Regions from separate parts of the Homo sapiens genome. Here all the other regions are linked to region 2. The links are contacts of gene promoters, found by promoter capture Hi-C in human tissues and cell types (Jung and others, 2019). All regions are on one chromosome and are shown on one strand. Each heading gives the region's core, a stretch centred on a gene start or on the middle of the fragment in contact. The rest is flanking DNA. Distances are from core to core; before and after follow the strand shown. Region 1 holds the start of NACAD (NAC alpha domain containing). Region 2 holds the start of PPIA (peptidylprolyl isomerase A). Region 3 has its middle 5.3 kb from the start of TBRG4.

Region 1 (4,234 bases), core at 25-2,524, 290 kb after region 2:
GCTTTGCTGCTGGGGTGATGGGACATCCAGGGGGTCCTGAGACAAGGGGGTCCTTTGGGTTCTTGCATGCCTGACACCCAACATCAGGAGTGGGCGTGGCTGGTGGGGCATCACTGGGTGCCCTGAAGCTGGGCTCTTGGTTCTGGCCCCTGGTGTGGCCCCCAGGGCAGGGGAACGGCTGAGCTGTTGGGATGGAGCAGAAACCAAAGGCCAAAGGTTTTTATAACTCATTCAAGGTCACCAAGCAAGCCAGAACAGAGCCAGCACAAGACCCTGGGGCTGGGAAGTCTGGGCCTGCACTCCCTGCCTCCCACCTAGAGCAGAGGCAGCAGCCTGTGTCACCCCAAACCAGGCCCCAGGCCCCAGCAGTGGTCCCATCTCTGGGTGACTTCTTGCCCACAGCAAGGTGCCCTTGGCCCTACCCACACATGGCTGACCTCCACGCCAGGACTGTCCAGGCTCGGCTCTTTCTAGGCCCCGTAGACCCCATCAGCCTCCACCAGCATTTGTTGACCCAGCCTAAGGACAGGTGGTCTGCACACCCAGGGCCATTGCTAATCAGGCCACCTCCCCCAAGGCCTTCCACCTTCCAGACCCAACTTAGGCTTTATTCCACCACCTGGCCCTCCATCCGGGCTTCCTAGGCTCTGGCCAGTCCTGCTCCTCCCTCCAGAGCCATGACCAGTCGCCGGCCCAGGACAGACCGGGTGCAACTGAGGACCCTCCCGGTGGTCACCTGATCGTACTGGGGGTATCAGCCGGACACCCCGCCTCCAGAACCCGCTGCCTCTGTCCAGAGCGGCCCAGCCCCAGCAGGCTGGCAGCTCGGTGCAAACAACGGGATGCAGCGGGCGGGATGCGAGCCCCACGATCCCTGGGTCGGAAGCCAAGGGCTTAAGCCCCCACGTTCTTTCTGGCTCGCGGCGGGCACTTCGTGCGCCCCACCTTCCCCGCAGTTCTGAGAGAGGCGGTAGCAGGGTTCAGATGGAGGGAAGGACAGGGCGCGGAAAGGGGAGGGGACTCGAGGGGGGCCAGGGGGATGGGGGAGAGGGGTGAAAGGTGAGCGATGGAAAGAGAACCCGGGCTGGAGAGGGGAGAGGCTGAAGGCAGGGAAAGAGTGGCCACGGCCTCACCTGTGCGGGGCCCGGGTCGGTCCGCCTCGGGCAGCAGCAGCTCGGCGCGGGCAGCCTCCCCAGGCATGGCCTGGCCGTGCGCCCGCCCGTCCCTCAGTCCTTCCGACCCTCCGTCAGTCCGTGCCGCCGCCCCGCCGAGCCTGCGCGGCCACCGCCCCTCGGCCGGGCGGTGGGGGCAGTGGGTGACGTCAGGCCGCCCCGCCCGCCTGTCCCAGCGAGTGAGCGTGCGCGGGCTCGCCAGGCACTGCGGAGGGCGTAGGGGGGGCTCCCTCCCCGCCCCCACCCCACCCGGCTGTGGCCTCCCTCTCGCTGTGGGCGGTTTCGTGGGGGAGCGGGGGTGGGCGCCTGCGCCCGGTCCCACCCTTTCCACAGCATTTACGAGGGAGGGTTTCAGGGCCAATTGGAAGCTGGGTTGCCTCAGGGTGGCATTCGCCCGTGGCCAGGAAGAGGCGGGGACGCCCCTAGAACCCTGGTTGTGGGAGGCTGGGGAGGTGGTTGGGATTCTGGGATGCTCGGAGCGCTTTGGGTGGAGTTGGCGGCGCAGCCTCCTTCCCCGCTGACCAAGCAGAGGGTGCAGGGCCTGGGGAGGGAGGGGGCCCCGCCCAGCCCGATGCCTCCATGCAAAAGGTGAGCTGGAGCTGCAGCTCTGGAGTGATTGGCTGGTCCTGGCAGTCGTCGGTCTCCGTGGCAACCGCCTCCTGTCTCCATGGCAACCAGGGATGGAGCCGACGAGAGCGCACCAGGGAAGGCGACCCGGATGGGTCGGTCTCCAGGTCTCTAGGCAACTCGGTGATCTGTCCTATCATCTCCCCTCCACCCCCACACTAGGCAGTAGAAGGAAAAGGAAGAAAGTGTTTCCCTCTATTCCTGGCAGCACCCTCTGCCACACCTCCCAGGAGGAAGCCCGCCCCGTGAATTTCCTGAAATGCCTCTTGCTTTCACACAGGCTACTGCGCCACCCAGATTCACTGAGCACCCCTCCTCCCCCGTGCCAGGCACCAGGGAGACAGATGAATGAGACATTGTCATCACCCCTGACTGGGGTGGGGGGAATCAGAGTAGCCATTGTCACAGGCAGGGAGGGAGGTTTCAACATCCTCAGTCTTCTGTGGGTTCTAACTTTGAGCTCATGAAGCCAGGGGCTGCCCTCTGACTCCCCCAGACCTGCCTCAAGGCTCAGTGCTACACACCTGGCTGCCTGCTGGGCATCTCTCCCCGCTGTACCCCAGGAGTCAGACACACCACACCATTAGAATTAACATCAACTTCAAACAATCTCTTCCAGAAAACAAAAGAGAAGGGGACACTTCCTAACTCATTTTATAAGGCAAGAAATATCCTGATGTCAAAACTAACAATGTGTCGCCAGGCGCGGAGGCTCACGCCTGTAATCCCAGCACTTTGGGAGGCCGAGGCTGGCGGATCACGAGGTCAGGAGATCGAGGCCATTCTGGCTAACGTGGTGAAACCCCGTCTCTACTAAAAATACAGAAAATGAGCCGGGAGTGGTAGCGGGCTCCTGTAGTCCCAGCTACTCAGGAGGCTGAGGCAGGAGAATGGCGTTAACCCGGGAAGCGGAGGTTGCAGTGAGCCGAGATCGCACCACTGCACTCCAGCCTGGGCGACAGAGCGAGACTCCGTCTCAAAAAAAAAAAAAAAAAAAAAAAAACTAACAAAGTGTCAATACACCCCAAGACCCCCAAAACGAAAACTGCAGACCAGCATCTCTCATGAATTCAGGCACAAAAATTCTCAATATTGGCAAATCAAATATAATGATGTATAAAAAAAATACACCATGACCAAGTGGAATTTATTCCACGTATGCAAGGCTGGTTTGACAGTTGAAAATCAATCAACAATACTCCAGAACACCAACAGGCTAAAGAAGAAAAATTTTGGTATCAGTTGACACAGAAAATGTGTTTGACATAACCAACATCATTCATGATTTAAAAAAAAACACTTTCAGCAAGTTAAAAATAAACTTGATAAAGATCTTATATAAAAAACTTATACAGCTAACATCATACTTAATGGTGAAAGACTGAATGCTTTTTAAGATTGGGAACAAGGCAAGGGTGTCCGCACTCACCACTCTTTTCAACATATTATTGGAATTTCTAAACCTTGCAATAAAGCAAGAAGAAATAAAAGGCAGATTGACTTCCAGAATGAAAGCATGGGGAGTTCTGCTGAGCAGCTCCCCAGTGAAACTGGTAAAAATTATTATTATTAATTTTAATTTTTTAATTTGAGATGGAGTCTTGCTCTTTTGACCAGTCTGTAGTGCAGTGGCATGATCTCGGCTCACTGCAACCTCTGTCTTCCGGGTTCAAGCGATCCTACTGTCTCAGCCTCCCGAGCAGCTGGGACTACAGGTCCCACCATGCCTGGCTAATTTTTGTATTTTTAGTAGAGACGGGGTTTCACCCTGTTGGCCAGGCTGGTCTTGAACTCCTGACCTCGTGATCCACCCACCTTGGCCTCCCAAAGTGTTGGAATTACAGGTGTGAGCCACCACACCCAGCCTGGTAAAAATTATTAAAAAAAAAAAAAAACAAACTGAGTTGAAAGGTCAGCAAGCCAGGCGTGGTGGCTCATGCCTGTAATCCCAGCACTTCAGGAGGCTGAGGTGGGCAGATCATGAGGTCAAGAAATCAAGACCTTCCTGGCCAACATGGTGAAACCCTGTCTCTACTAAAAATACAAAAATTAGCCGGGCGTGATGGTGCATGCCTGTAGTCCCAGCTACTCGGGAGGCTGAGGCAGGATAATTGCTTGAACCTGAGAGGCATAGGTTGCAGTGAGCTGAGATCGTGCCACTGCACTCCAGCCTGGTGACAGAGTGAGACTCCGTCTTGGGAAAAAAAAAAAAAAAGAAAGGGCCCAACAAAATAAAAGTGAAAGAGAGAACAAATTAAAGCTTCTGGAAATGGTCTGAAGGGCAAACAGCAAATGAAGAAACATCTGTTCAAGGCTGGATGTGGTGGCTCACGCCTGTAATCCCAGCATTTTGGGAGGCCAAGGTGGGCGGATCACTTGAGATCAGGAGTTCGAGACCAGCCTGGCTAACATGGTGAAAATCCATCTCTACTTAA
Region 2 (4,109 bases), core at 1,425-3,924:
AGGATGGAGAGAGAAATGGTAAGAATTTATGCCTGAAGGCCTTGGGCATTTTTTTTCAGTGTCAGATGAGGACAAGTGGCTTTCTTAAGATCACAAAGCAAGAAGTGATGTGGAGTGGGGGGGAAAAAAGCAGTTTCCAGTTTGGCTTTGCTAACACTCATAAGCGATTACTCTGAACAAGAAGCCAGAGCTTTACTTTACGCATCTGTAAAATGGGGATAATGGGATGGTGATGAGAACAAAACAACATAGTCTAAATTTCCAACACAGGCTGAGCATGGCGGTTCACCTGTAATGCTAGAACTTTGGGAGGCCAAGGTGGGAGAATCCTTTAAGCCCTGGAGTTTGAGACCAGCCCTGATAACACAGCCAGAACCAGTTTCTGTTAAAAAAATTTAAATTAGCTGGCACAGTGGCTTGTGCCTTTAGTCCCAGACATTTGGGAGGTTGAGGAGGGAGGAATGCTTCAGTCCAAGAGTTCGAGGTTACAGTGAGCTAGGATTGCACCACTGCACTCCAGACTAACCAACAGAGTGAGACCCTATCTCAAATAAATAAATTCCTAACACGTTGGCTCATGGTTATTAACAATGGCAAGAGGCCAGAAACTGTACTTCATCTATCAGATGAATTATCATTTTTGTCTCACCACAACCCTATCCTGGTTGTGCAGATGAAGAAACTGAGTTTTAGAAACATTAAACAACGTCCAGGTGCAGCAGCTCACGCCTATAATCCCAGCACTTTTGGGAGGCTGAGGCGGGTGGATCGCTTGAGTCCAGGAGTTTGAGACCAGCCTGGGCGATGTGGCGAAACCCCATCTTTACAAAACACACACACACAAAATGAGCTGGGTGTGGGTGCATGCCTGTAGTCCCAGCTACTTGGGAGGCTAAGGTGGGACGCTTGCTCGAGCACGGGAAGGGGAGGTTGCAGTGAGCCGATAACACACCACTGCACTTCCAGCCTAGGTGAGAGTGAGACCTTGTCTCAAAAAAACAAAAAGAAACATTAAATAATATCCTTAATATTGCAACTTAAGTGACAGCCCAGGATATATGAATTCCCTTGTAAGGTTTTCTTAACAAAACACCAGTCACATAAGTGCATTTTATTTTATATTTTTGTTTATTTATTTGAGACGGAGTCTCTGTCTCTCAGGCTGGAGTGCAGTGGCGCCATCTCTGCTCGCTGCAACCTCCACCTCCTGGGTTCCAGCGATTCTCCTGCCTCAGCCTCCCGAGGGGGTAGCTGGGACTACAGGTGCGCACCACCATGCCCAGCTAATTTTGTATTTTTCGTAGAGATGGGGTTTCACCATGTTGTCCAGGCTGGTCTTGAACTCCTGACCTCAGGTGATCCTCCCGCCTCGGCCTCCCAAAGTGCTGGAATTACAGGCGTGATCCACCGCACCCGGCCTATTTTTTGAGAGAGGGTCACACTCTGTCGTCCCGGCTGGAATGCAGTGATGCGATCACCGCCCACTACAGCCTCGACCTCCGGGCTCAAGCAATCCTCCCCGCCCAGCCTCCTGAGTAGCGAGCGCCTCGACGCCCAGCTAATTTTTATTTTTATTTATTTTTTTGTAGAGACGGCGTCTCTCTAAGATGCCCAGGCTGGTGGCCGGTGTCGAACTCCTAAGATGAAGCGATCCTCCCCGGCCTTGGCCTCCGCGCCTCCTAAAGCGCCAGGTATGAGCCACCGCGCCTGGCCTACAAGTGCATTTTAATTAAAGTATTATTAATGTCTTTGCCTGAAGAAATTCGCTTTTAAATTGTGACTTATCTTTCACCCAAAAATCAAAGCACAATTCAGCCCCGAGGCGGGGGCGGTAGGAGCTGGGCGGGGCGGGGGCAGGGAAAGACCAGGAGCAGAGATTCAAAAAGAGTAAGAGGGCAAAATGTGCATAATGCATCTTCACAGGTAAGAGCCTGGCCAGGCTCCTGTTTTAATGGCTTCCTCCTGAAGAAGATTCAAGCAGAGTGTAAGATATTTTCGGAAAGTAGAGCATTTTGAAAGCATTTCATAATCTCTCAAAACCGGAGACTGCTCCTGTCCCACCTCGTTAGAGAAAACAGCGATGCTCAAAGGCAACCTCCTTCCTGACATTGCCTGGTAGGACGCGACGTGGTGTTTGCCCGCGCGGAATGCGGACGCAAGGCTGCTCCTAGGTCTCGGGGACGCGCCATCCCCATTTCCGCTCGCGGAGGCGTAGGGTCCGGGCGCGGGACCCCAGTCGACCTTGACTGGCGGCGCGACCTTGAGGCCTGCGTTCGCCTCAGTTGCCCCCTCTGTGCAATGGGGAGACGCGCCTCATCGCTTGACAACGGCCGAAGAGCCGCCGCGCTTCCGTCTCCCGCGTGCGCGCGCCATGCTGCCCACCCCCGTTCCGCACTGACCCTCCCCCGTGCCCCGCGTCCCGTACTGCCGCCCCGCCCCGAGTCCCATGCCGCAGCCACCGCGACGGAGCCCGCAGGCGGGAACCTGCCTCCGCGCGTTAGCGCGCACGCGCGCCTCATGTGTCGTCCCCATCAGCGCCGGCTTCCGTCTATAGGCCAGATGCACTGTCACTCTGGCGAAGTCGCAGACCCGATTGGCCGGGACGGAGGCGCGAGACCGGGTTGCGGGCGGGGCCGAACGTGGTATAAAAGGGGCGGGAGGCCAGGCTCGTGCCGTTTTGCAGACGCCACCGCCGAGGAAAACCGTGTACTATTAGCCATGGTCAACCCCACCGTGTTCTTCGACATTGCCGTCGACGGCGAGCCCTTGGGCCGCGTCTCCTTTGAGGTCGGGCGGGCGGCGGCGTGCGGGAATGGGGCCCAGAAAGTGGGCCGGGGTCGGGGTGGGTGGTAGCGCCCCAAAGGCCCGGGCGCGGGGCGACCCTGCTTGAGGGGCGAGCGCGGGCGGGCTGCGGCGCCATTTCCTGACGAGGGGCCATTTTGGGAGGTCCGCGAGTCGCGGGGAGGAGGCCGGGACGGCGGCGGACAAAGGCAGGCGGGGCGGCTGCGAGGCCGTTGGGGGAGGGGGCCCGCGTCCGCCCGCCCGCCTCATGTGGCCGCGCCCTGTCCTGTCCGACGCACGTGCTCGGCGGCCGCGCTCAGGTCCGCGCCTTGAGAGTCGTTGGGCTCCGCCCTAGCTTGGCCTGGGCGCCGCAGACCGGAGCCAGAAGCACGCTCGCGGGGGCTTGCGACCGCCTTCCTGGGAAGCTGTCCCCTGGCAGGCATGGGTGCTTTACATCCTGAGCTGGGAAGCTGTTTGCTTGAGGGTTTTTCTCAAGGATCGAGGCGCGGTGTGAGCCCGTCCATGCTCGGTCCTGTAGATCCCGGGAGGCCATGTTATAAAAGGAGACTTGCTGGGATGTGACGGGTTGCCACTTGAAATATCTTCCATTTGGATAAAGTAGGAATATTTATACATGTGCCCCAAACGTCCCTCCGTGTCCCCCACCCCCAAGCGGAAATGTGAAAATGGGCCTTGCCTTTGCTGGTGCCCAAGGACCGCCTTCCACTGCAGTGACGGCGCTGGCGGGGGAGGCGCTCTTGAGCCCCTCCCGATTGTCCCTCTGCCTAGCAAGCAAGTTGCGACTGGCCACAAGGCAGGCCTCTTCCGACCAAGGTGGATTACCAGTGATTACCTAATTAGTTTTGAGAGCGTTAAATGAGTTCTTAAAGATCAGTTGTAATTATAGCATAGTATCTAAACTTGGCGCGTGTCTTCAAAGTTAAATATTGAGTACGATTCCGTTCCAGTTAACATGGATAGACCTTAGGGAGTAGCGAAATAGGATGTTAGTGGTTTTATTCCTTTAAATCACATCTCAAAAGGCCACCAATGGCTAGTTTGGGATCTTATTCCGAAAATAGATTGATCCTCATGCAGTCTTCGTGAGGACAGAGCGATTTCCTTGTTGCCTACCCTGTCCATAGTGCCTGGCACATAGGCACTGAAACACTGCATGTTAATCCACACCCCACCCCACCTATGAGTGTAGTCAAAGCTGGTAAGTGACAAGGGCTTTCGTGGAAACTTGGCCTGACCTAATGTTGGGCATCAGGTTACCCAAAGAGCTTCAGGGAAATGAGAAAGGACTTGCAGGTCTTGATGAGAAT
Region 3 (3,974 bases), core at 1,122-3,621, 320 kb after region 2:
TAGGTTAATTTATAGCTACTTGGGGGGCAGTCAGTCTAGAGTCCACATAGCAAGCAGCTTCAAAAGATGATTATTCAGCAAGAGGGAGGAAGTGAGATGTGACTGCTGTCTCTTTCTCATGCCTTTTTTTGGGCCTGATAATTTAGAGGAAGCTCATATTCCTCATATAAAAACATTTCTTTTGACTGTCATTACTAATGGCCAATGATTTTATCAATTATACCTAGGTAATGAAACTTCATAAAAACTTATTAAACAATGGGGTTCAGAGAGCTTCCAAGTTGGTGAATGCATCCACATGCTGGGAAGGTGTCACCTCCCAAACCCCATGGGAACAGAAGCTCTGATGCTTGAGATTCTTCCAGAAGTGTTGTGATTAGAGGAACAGTTTCCTTTGGAACCTGGCCCTAAGACTTTTTTTTTTTTTTTTTTTGAGATGGAGATTCGCTCTGTCGCCCAGGCTGGAGTGCAGTGGCGCTATCTCGGCTCACTGCAAGCTCCGCTTCCTGGGTTCATGCCGTTCTCCTGCCTCAGCCTCCCGAGTAGCTGGGACTATAGGCACACGCCACCATGCCCGGCTAATTTTTTGTATTTTTAGTAGAGACAGGGTTTCACCGTGGTAGCCAGGATGGTCTTGATCTCCTCATCTCGTGATCCGCCCGCCTCGGCCTCCCAAAGTGCTGGGATTACAGGTGTGAGCCACCGTGCCTGGCCCCTAAGACCCTTTTAATCTAGATGTTCATCTGTATCCTTTAAAATATGCTTTGTAATAAACTAGTAAACATAGATGTTATGATCTGATTGTGTCCCTCCGAAATGTGTATGTTCAAGTCTAATCTGCAAAGTGTTGATATTAAGAGGTGGGGCCTTTGGGAGGTAATTAGGTCAAGAGGATGGAGCCCTCGTGAATGGAATTAGTGCCCTTATAAAAGAGGCCCGAGGGAGCATGTTTGTCCCTTTCTCCTTCTGCCATGTGAGGACACAGTAAGAAGTTACCTTCTATGAGGGAGAGAGCCCTTACCAGACACTGAAGCTGCTGGTGTCTTGATCTTGGACTTCCCAATCTCCAGAACTGTGAGCAATACATTTCTAGGGTTTATAAATTACTCAGTCTATGGTATTTTGTTCCAGCAGCCCAGATGGAATAAGGCAGTAGATAAAATGTTTCTCTGACTTCTGTGAGCTCTTATAGCAAATTACTAAACCTGAAGAGCAGGTCATGGGAAACCTTGCTTTGTAGCCAAGTCAAACAGAAGTGTGGATAGTCTGGGACCCACTACTTGTGACTGGCACCTGAAGTGAGGGCAGTGTTGTGGGACTGAGCCCTTAACCTGTGAGGTCTGTGCTAACTCTAAGTAGTTAGCGTCTGTTGTGGTTTGAATACTTGACCCCTCCAAAACACATGTTGAAACTTCTCCACTTGCCATGCTGGTTTTAGCATAGAAAGTCTCATGTCTTGGGAAGCTCCCCTACCCTTCCTCGCCTCAAGTCCCAGGCAAACTGGGATGCTTGACCACCCTGTTTCTGTCTGCTCCTGTCTATTCACCTTCCCTCCAGTTGGAATCAAACCACAGTTGATATGAGCTCTGGAGTGCAGAAGCTGATACAGCACCTGAGGCTGCCTTCTGACTGGCATCTGGAAACTTGGCTGGCAAACAGTTTCTTATACTGATAATAACTTCCTATAAAGGGCAGGGGTCTTCCCTGCACCTAAACTGTTTGTACAACAACATGGCTCATGCTAAGCACCTGCCTTTCTTCTGGGAGTTTGGAATTTTGGTGTATGCTAGGCAGACACCAGCTCCTGATAAAAACCCTGAGCACCAAGTCTCTATGAGCTTCCCTGGTAGACAGCATTGTACACGTGTCATCACAACTAATTGTTGAGGGAATCCAGTAGTGACTCCCTCTTGTTTCTGCTGGAAGAGAACTCTTGGAAGCTCATGCCTGGTTTCTTCCAACTTCACCTCATGTACCTTTCCCCTTTGCAGATTTTGCTCTGTATCCTTTTCTTTAAGTCTTAGCCAAGGGTATGACTGTGTACTGAGTCCTGTGAGTTCCTCTGGAGAGTCACAGAACCTTGGGGTGGTCTTGGGGACCCCTGACAAACCTGTTGAGGGACTTTCTCAGAGAAGGGCCCTTCTTCAGGGCCTGATGGAATCGATGTCTCTTCAGATTCCTGCATAAGAGGAGGAATCAGACCCAAAGGCTAGTCTAAGGTCAGCCTGGCTCCCTGCTCTGGCCATACACAGCCTGTTCTACCCTGCTATCTATGTGGCAAACTGAGGCCCAGGGAGGGCAGGACTTGCCTAAGGACACATGGAGAGTGAGTGTCCAGGTCTTCTGCCACCAGCCCCAGGCCTCCCCCTGCTTCTGTGCCTGCCCGGGGCTCTGTCCCAGCTGGACTCAGAGTGGTGGGTCTTTTGCACCCCCAGCAGGAAACCCTCAGCAGGGCCAACAGTCCTGACCTCTGCCAACCCTTCCAGAAATCCACAGAACATCTCATCCATCCTTCCTTCTCATCCACCAAGAAGGCCACAGCACCCTCCTCATGCAGTGTGGTGAGAGGTGTGGTACAGTGTGCAGAGTGGGTCGTGACAGCCACAGCCCAGTGGACCCAGCCCTGTCCTGCACCAGTAGGGCCCAGCTCATAGCCGTTCCTGGCTTTCAGTCAACCTGGGCTCCTGCTCTGGAGGCCACTGACATTGAGTACCTGTGCTAACAGATGTGCAGGTGAGAAGGCCTCTGGGGGTACGGGTGATGGAGCTGGGAAGGGGCCAAGGTGGTCCACCTTATCAGAGTCCTGGGAGCTCCGGTGGCAGCTGCCATGAGAATGCAGTGGGAGATGGTGGAGTGGCCCCATGGATCTCTCTGGCATGGATGCTCAGCCTCTAAAGGGGGCTGTTTTACCAGCTTGTAAAATCTACCCAAGTAGGGTACAGGCTGGGCTGTCTTGGGGGAAAAAACATTAAAACTTAAAGCAGTGTTTTATATGGAAAAATATGAAAGGGTTTTTTTTTTTTTTTTTTGAGACAGTCTCACTCTGTTGTCCAGGCTGGAATGCAGTGGTGCGATCTTGGCCCACTGCAACCTCCGCCTCCCAGGTTCAAGCGATTCTCCTGCCTCAGCCTCCCAAGTAGCTGGTATTACAGGTGTGTGCCACCATGTCCGGCTCATTTTTTGTATTTTTAGTGGAGACAAGGTTTCGCCATGTTGGCCAGGCTGGTCTTGAACTCCTGACCTCAGGTGATCCACCCGCCTTGGCGGCCTCCCAAAGTGTTGGGATTACAGGCGTGAACCACTGTGCCCGGCTGGGACTATTTTAAAATATCATGTATTAATAAAAAATTTGAGGTTCATGAAGACTGATGGATCAGGAGATGATTGCCATTGAGAAGCTAGTTTATTACTCTCAGTTCTGGAGAGAAGGGCACATGCCACACCACAGGGGCCACATGGGAAAACACTGGGGTTGGCCCTGAGGCAGAGGAATGGGGCAGGGAGTGGTGGGCAAGAGCCTTTACTGTGGTTTCTGTGGGAAAGAACAGGTAAGGCAGGGCGACAGTTTAGGATTGGGTGGTTTGAGTAACTTCAGGGCCTGGAGCAGAAGGGCTGTCCCTCATTGTCTGATACCTGGCCCTGGAGTGATTAGAGCAAGTCCATAGTGGCCAGAGTGTGAGAGCCCCATAGAGGAGGTGTTTGAGGGTGTGAGCATTGGATTGGTTGGTTTGTGTTTGAAAAGTGTACCCTGCCCAGGAGGAGGACTCTTCCTGAGAGGTGAGGAGCTGATGAGGGAGGCAGAAGGCCAAGGCAAGGTGATTCAGGCCCATCATCAGGGTGCAGAACCAAGTCTGTCCAGCATATACATACAAGGCAGATGTTAAAGCATTGTTTGCAGAAGCTGGAAACATAGTCAATACAGGGGCCAGGGCAGGGTGAAACTTCTCTGTAGGGGAGGAGCCTCCAGCATCAGG

Evidence for each region. Contacts are between HindIII fragments. The study calls those that stand out against the background at their distance.
Region 1: a contact is called between the fragment with the promoter of NACAD here and the fragment with the promoter of PPIA in region 2, in 2 of the 25 tissues and cell types used here (heart left ventricle and psoas muscle).
Region 3: a fragment that was not itself captured here is called in contact with the fragment with the promoter of PPIA in region 2 in 1 of the 25 tissues and cell types used here (dorsolateral prefrontal cortex).

The regions. Positions count from the first base shown.
Region 1 is chr7:45,087,695-45,091,928 of GRCh38, forward strand. NACAD (NAC alpha domain containing) reads right to left here and starts at 1,275. Exons shown (of 8, transcript NM_001146334.2): 1 at 1,134-1,275. The coding sequence starts at 1,200. The HindIII fragment of the contact is 12,529 bases long and covers 1-4,234 here.
Region 2 is chr7:44,794,007-44,798,115 of GRCh38, forward strand. PPIA (peptidylprolyl isomerase A) reads left to right here and starts at 2,675. Exons shown (of 5, transcript NM_021130.5): 1 at 2,675-2,787. The coding sequence starts at 2,719. It overlaps LOC105375259 (a long non-coding RNA gene), which reads right to left and starts at 2,524. Exons shown (of 2, transcript XR_007060300.1): 1 at 2,062-2,524; 2 at 1,110-1,418. RefSeq lists silencers at 2,216-2,415, 2,506-2,775, 2,796-3,145. The HindIII fragment of the contact is 11,905 bases long and covers 1-4,109 here.
Region 3 is chr7:45,115,035-45,119,008 of GRCh38, forward strand. No RefSeq gene overlaps it. Among named protein-coding and RNA genes, the nearest start is that of TBRG4, 5.3 kb to the left of the region's middle. RefSeq lists a silencer at 3,944-3,974. The HindIII fragment of the contact is 8,492 bases long and covers 1-3,974 here.